Linked DNA regions of Homo sapiens: region 2 is linked to region 1. Evidence: promoter capture Hi-C in human tissues and cell types (Jung and others, 2019). All regions are on one chromosome and are shown on one strand. The core of a region is centred on a gene start or on the middle of the fragment in contact, and the rest is flanking DNA. Distances in the headings are between cores, read along the strand shown.

Evidence for each region. The method cuts DNA at HindIII sites, captures the fragments that hold promoters and counts their contacts. A contact is called where the count stands out against the background at its distance.
Region 2: a fragment that was not itself captured here is called in contact with the fragment with the promoter of VSTM1 in region 1 in 1 of the 25 tissues and cell types used here (adrenal gland).

Annotation. Positions count from the first base shown.
Region 1 is chr19:54,062,647-54,066,039 of GRCh38, forward strand. It overlaps VSTM1 (V-set and transmembrane domain containing 1), which reads right to left and starts at 1,251. Exons shown (of 9, transcript NM_198481.4): 1 at 1,098-1,251. The coding sequence starts at 1,131. The HindIII fragment of the contact is 40,052 bases long and covers 1-3,393 here.
Region 2 is chr19:52,179,524-52,182,916 of GRCh38, forward strand. No RefSeq gene overlaps it. Among named protein-coding and RNA genes, the nearest start is that of PPP2R1A, 8.8 kb to the right of the region's middle. The HindIII fragment of the contact is 6,111 bases long and covers 1-3,393 here.

The DNA.
Region 1 (3,393 bases), core at 1-2,500:
CCAGGAGGTGGAGGTTGCAGTGAGCTGAGATCACACCACTGCACTCCAGCCTGGGAGACAAAGCAAGACTCTGTCAAAAAAAAAAAAAAATGCTCATCTAAGGTGCAAATGTGTGTAGGAGACGAGCATTACCCCACAAGGAAGGGCTGCACCCAGAAAAGGAGGAAGGAACTGAAGCAGACGAAGCACGTCGATGTCCACCGCACCCCCCGTGCACCAGGGAGGAACTGGGGCCTTAGGGAGGTGGAGCTCTGCTGGGTCAAGCCTAGAGTTTCTATGTAGTAAAGCCGAGATTATAACCCAGGTCATCCGTTTCACAGTGTGAGCTCTGTCTGAATACATCAGGTTCAATTGGAGGATGGTTAAAATCAGCCTAAGAATCGAGCTGGTCAGAAAATTGTCTTCTTGGGGCCAGGTGTGGTGGCTCACGCCTGTAATCCCAGCACTTTGGGAGGCTGAGGCGGGCGGATCACCTGAGGTCAGGGGCTCGAGACCAGCCTGACCAACATGGTGAAACCCCGTCTCTACTTAAAATACAAAAGTCAGCCGGGTGTGGTGGCCTGCACCTGTAGTCCCACCTACTCGGGAGGCTGAGGCAGGAGAATCGCTTGAACCTGGGAGACGGAGGTTGCAGTGAGCCCAGATCACGCCATTGCACTCCAGCCTGGGCTACAGAGTGAGACTCTGTCTCATAAATAAATGCATACATACATAAATAAATAAATAAGAGAGAGAGAGAAGAAAATTGTCTTTTTGCCCACAGCCTTGCACCCTGTAGATCCCTAAGCCCAGCCCTCCTCTATTCCGACGGAGGATGATGGCAGTACTGCGGTATTTAGCGGCTGCAGACTCGGAGACCCCACAGCAGCTCTGCCTTTCCCAGCGGAGTCTGTCCCCGTGTCTCTGCAGCGCGGCCTCCTCCTCGCTTGCATGTGGGCGGCAGAACTCACAGAACCCACAGCCCAGACCCACCCACCGCAGGTGTGCAACACCTGGAAGTCATTACTTCCACACACCGCATTTCCACCTGGACTGCCACTCCCACATGAGTTTTTCTCACCAGCCCAAGCCCATTCGTCCCAGTCCTGGAGACTCACCGAGGCAAAGCAGGGAGAGGAATTCTGCGGTCATAGCGTCCCTTCTGCCAGAACCAAGGCCCCGCCTTGGGTTTTACCCTTCAAAGGCGGAGCGGGACTGGGCCGGCCGCAGCTCTCCGGCTGCCCGGTTCGTCCCCAGGATGTGCAGATAGAGGAGGTTTTGCTCTGACACTCTGGTTCTCTGCCCCACTCTTGCAGTTTCCTTCTCACAACCGACTCAGGAAACAAGAAGCCGTCGATGATAACTTCTTCCCCATGAATCCGGTGTGTGTGGCCCCACCCGCCCGAGCTCTGTCCTACCTTATCTGAAGTTCTGCCAAGAGTTTTCTGTAAATGTAATTTTTTATTTTAAAACACTAATACCGGCCGGACGCGGTGGCTCACGCCTGTAATCCCAGCACCTTGAGAGGCTGAGGCGGGCGGATCACCTGAGGTCGGGAGTTCAAGACCAGCCTGACCAAAATGGAGAAACCCCCGTCTCTACTAAAAATACAAAATTAGCCAGGCATGGTGGCGCATGCCTGTAATCCCAGCTACTCCGGAGGCTGAGACAGGAGAATGGCTTGAACCCAGGAGGCGGAGGTTGCTGTGAGCCAAGATTGTGCCACTGCACTCCAGCCTGGACAACAACGGTGAAACTGTCTCAAACAAGCAAACAAACAAACATTAATACCTATAGCTTTATAGCTTCCGTGTACCCACTAGCCAGCTCCCCACAATGTTAACCTTTTTTTGGGGGGCGGGGGGGACAGAGTCTTGCTCTGTCACCCAGGCTGGAGTGCAGTGGCGCGATCTCGGCTCACTGCAACCTCTGCCTCATGGGTTTAAGGATTCTCCTGCCTCAGACTCCCAAGTAGCTGGGATTACAAGCATGCACCACCACACCCAGCTAATTTTTTGTAGAGATGGGATTTCACCATGTGGGCCAGGCTGGTCTTGAACTCCTGGTCTCTAGTGACCCGCCCACCTCAGCCTCCCAAAGTGCTGGGATTACAGGCATAAGCCACTGTGCCCGGCCAATGGTAATCTCTTATAATTACAGTACTTTTTTTTTTTTTTTTTTTTTTTGAGACAGAATCTCTGTCAGCCAGGCTGGAGTGCAGTGGCACAATCTTGGCTCACTGCAACCTCTGCCTCCCGGGTTCAAGCGATTCTCCTGCCTCAGCCTCCCGAGTTGCCGGGATGACAGGTGTCCGCCACCACTCTTGGCTAATTTTTTTTGTTCTTTTTAGTAGAAACGAGGTTTTGCCATGTTGCCCAGGCTGGTCTCGAACTTCTGACCTCAGGCGATCCGCCTGCCTCGGCCTCCCAAACTGCTGGGATTACAGGCGTGAGCCACCACGCCCGGCGTATGGCACATTTTCAAAACCAGAGACTTTGCACTGGCATCACACGTTTAACCAGGTTCCAGAGGTCACTCAGATCTCACCAGTTTGTGCATAATTCGTTTCTCTTTTTCTCTTCCTCTTCCTTCTATTTCTATTTCCTTTTCTCCTTTTCCTTCTTTTCTCCTGCTCTTCCTCCTCTTCCACCTTCTTTTCCTCCTCCCTTTTCTTTGCCTATGGGTATAGTTCTGTAACATTTTATTGCCTGTATGTATGGCTTTATAGAACCACCGCCACAATCAAGACACAGAACTGTCCCACCACCACGTAGGAACTCCCTCATGCTGCCCCTTTATAATCGCTCTCCCACCCTAGCACCTGCTAATCTGTTCTACGTCTCTATCACTTTGTCACTTTGAGACTCTTGTATAAATGGAATCGTCCATCGCCTCACCTTCTGAGGGTGACCTTTTTCACTCAGCACAATGCCTGTGAGATTCATTCAAATGGTTGTGTGTTATGATGATGGATACATTAGCCGGGCGTGGTGGCACACGCCCATAGTCCCAGCTACTCAGGAGGCTGAGGCAGGAGAATCGCTTGAACCCGGGAGGCGGAGGTTGCAGTGAGCTGAGATCACGCCACTGCACTCCAGCCTGGGTCACAGAGCAAGACTCCATCAAAAAAAAAGAATTATCTAATGGATACAATGTGTGTCACTGGGTTAGTGGATACCTGAAAGCCCTAACTTCATCATTTTGGAATCTATCCATGCAATAAAGTTACACTTGTACCCCATAAACGTATACAAATAAAAAATAATCGTCTGGGCATGATGACTTACCGCTGTAATCCCAGCACTTTGGGAGGCTGAGGCGGGATTACAGGTGTGAGCCACCATGCCCGGCCTATACTTTCTATCTTAATAACTACAAAAATAATAACTTGCTGGATGGGTCCCTGTGCCCACC
Region 2 (3,393 bases), core at 496-2,995, 1.9 Mb before region 1:
TTTTGTTGCTTTAAGTTTTTTTTTTTTTTTTCCTAGGAATCTTAGCTCTGCAGGGTTCTTTGAGCTTTTAAAAACTACTTTATGGCCGGGCACGGTGGCTCATGCCTGTAATCCCAGCACTTCGGGAGGCCGAGGCGGGTGGATCACGAGGTCAGGAGATCGAGACCATCCTAGCTAACATGGTGAAACCCCGTCTCTACTAAAAATACAAAAAATTAGCCAGGTGTGGTGGTGGGCGCCTGTAGTCCCAGCTACTCCAGAGGCTGAGGTAGGAGAATGGTGTGAACCCGGGAGGCAGAGCTTGCAGTGAGCTGAGATCATGCCACTGCACTCCAGCCTGAGCGACAGAGCGAGACTCCGTCTCAAAAAAAAAAAAAAAATGCTTTATTAGGCTAGGTCTGGTGGCTCATGCCTGTAATACCAGCATTTTGGGAGGCCTAGGTGGCTGGATCACCTGACGTTGGGAGTTCGAGACCAGCCTGACCAACACAGTGAAACCCCATCTCTACTAAAAATACAAAATCAGCCAGACGTGGTGGCACATGCCTGTAATCCCAGCTACTTGGCAGGAGAATTGCTTGAACCCATGAGGTGGAGGTTGTAGTGAGCTGAGATCATGCATTGCTCTCCAGCCTGGGCAACAAGAGCAAAACTCCACCTCAAAAGAGAAAGACAGAAAGAAAGAAAAACTACTTTATTGAGGTATGATTGACATATAAAAAACTGTAGATATTTAATGTATACAACTTCACGTGTTTGGAAATAAGTATACATCCTTGAAACTATTATCACAACTAATGCCATAAACTTATCAATTGCCTCCAAAAATTCCCTTCCAGTTCATTTCTTCACTCCGCTTTGGTTTTGTTTGTCCTTTTGTGATAACATAAGATCTTATATAAGACCTACCCTTTCAGCAAAGTTTTAAATGTACAACGCCGTATTTGTTAATCATGTGCCCTATGTTGTACGGTAGGCCTCCAGAACTTGTTTATCTTGCAGGACTGAAACTTTGTACACTTTCCTTTTTGTTTTTGTTTTTTTGCTTTTTGCTTTTTTAATTTCCCCATGAAATTAAAAAAAAAAAGTTTCTCTTCATGAGAAACTTTGCACACTTTGACCAACACCTTTTCATTTCCTCCCACCTCTCAGCCTCTTGCAACCACTATTCTGCTTTCTGCTTCTGTGTGTTTGACTATTTTGGATTCCACATATAAATGAGGTCATACGGCCGGGCGCGGTGGCTCACGCTCCTAATCCAAGCACTTTGGGAGGCCGAGGCAGGCAGATCACAAGCTCAGGGGTTCAAAACCAGCCTGGCCAACATAGTGAAACCCAGTCTCTACTAAAAATAAAAAAACAAAATTAGCCGGGCATGGGGGTGGGCGCCTGTAGTCCCAGCTACTCAGGAGGGCAGGAGAATGGCGTGAACCCAGAAAGCAGAGCTTGCAGTGAGCTGAGATCGTGCCACTGCACTCCAGCCTGGGTGACAGAGCGACACTCTGTCTCAAAAAAAAAAAACATACGAGATCATATGTTATTTGTCTTTCTGTGTCTGTCTTATTTTACTTTGCATAATGTCCCTTAGGTTCGTCCAAGTCATCACAAATGACAAGATTTCCGTTTTTTTCCTTTTTATTTGAGACGCAGTTTCACTCTGTCGCCCAGGCTGGAGCGTAGTGGTGCGATCTTGGTCCACTGCAACTTCGACCTCCTGGGTTCAAGCAACTCTTCTGCCTCAGCCTCCCGAGTAGCTGGGATTACAGGTGTGCACCACCATGCCCAGCTAATTTTTTTGTATTTTTTTAGTAGAGATGCGGTTTCACCATGCTGGCCAGGCTGCTCTCGAACTCCTGACCTCATGTTCTGCCCGCCTTGGCCTCCCAATGTGCTTGGATTACAGGCGTGAGCCACTGTGCCTGGCCTGTTTTTTTTGAGACGGAGTTTCACTATTGTCACCCAGGCTGGAGTGCAATGTCCCTATCTCGGCTCACTGCAACCTCCAACTCCTGGGTTCAAGCGATTCTCCTCCCTCAGTCTGCCGAGTAGCTGGGATTAGAGGCACCCACCAACATGCCCGGCTAGTTTTTTGTATTTTTAGTAGAGACGGGGGTTTCACTATGTTGGCCAGGCTGGTTTTGAACTCCTGACCTCAGGTGATCCACCAGCCTCGGCCTCCCAAAGTGCTGGGATTACGGGCGTGAGCCACCACGCCTGGCCTAGATTTCCATTTTTTTAAAGGCTGAATAGTGTGTGTGTGTGTGTGTGTGTGTGTTTATCCATTTATCAGTGAACATTTAGGTTTTTTCCACATCTTGGTTATTGTGGCAATAAACATAGGAGTGCAGATCTCTCTCCAAGATATTGATTTCATTCCTTTGGATATATACCATGAAGGGGGATTGCTGAATCACCTGGTAGTTCTATTTTTAATTTTTTGAGGAACCTCCATAATGTTTTCTACCAATTTACATTCCCACCAATGGTGTACAAGGGTTCCCTTTCTCCACATCCTTGCCAATACTATTTCCCGTTAATATTATTTTGTTTTTGAGACAGTCTCGCTCTGTCGCCCAGGCTGGAGTGTAGTGGCACAATCTCGACTCACTGCAACCTCCACCTCCAGGGTTTAAGCGATTCTCCTGCCTCAGCCTCCTGAGTAGCTGGGACTACAGGCATGAGCCACCATGCCCGGCTGTTTTCTTTTGTTTTTTTGAGGCAGAGTCTTGCTCTGTCATACAGGCTGGAGTGCAGCGGCACATTCATGGCTCACTGTAGCCTCACCTCAATCTCCTGGACCGAACCAATCCTCCCACCTCAGCCTCCCAAGTACAGTAGCTGGGACCGCAGGCAGATGCCACTATACCCAGCTTATTTATTTATTTATGTTTGAGATGGAGTTCTGCTCTTGTTGCCCAGGCTGGAGTGCAGTGGCGTGATCTCGGCTCACTGCAACCTCCGCCTCCCGGGTTCAAGCGATTCTTCTGCCTCAGCCTTCCTGAGTAGCTGGGATTACAGGCATGTGCCCCCACACCTGGCTAATTTTGTATTTTTAGTATAGACGGGGTTTTTCCATGTTGGTCAGGCTCGTCTCGAACGCCCAACCTCAGATGATCCGCCACCTCGGCCTCCCAAAGTGCTGGGATTACAGGAGTGAGCCACCGCGCCCGGCTATTTCTATATTTTGAGACGGAGTCCCGCTCTATTGCCCAGGCTGGTGTGCAGTGATGTGTGATCTCAGCTCACTGCGACCTCCACCTCCTGGGTTCAAGCGATTCTCCTGCCTCAGCTTCCTGAGTAGCTGGGATTACAGGAGCCCACCACCATGCCTGGCTAATTTTTGTATTTTTAGTGGTGCACATGCCTGTAATCCCAGCTACTCGGGAGGCTGAG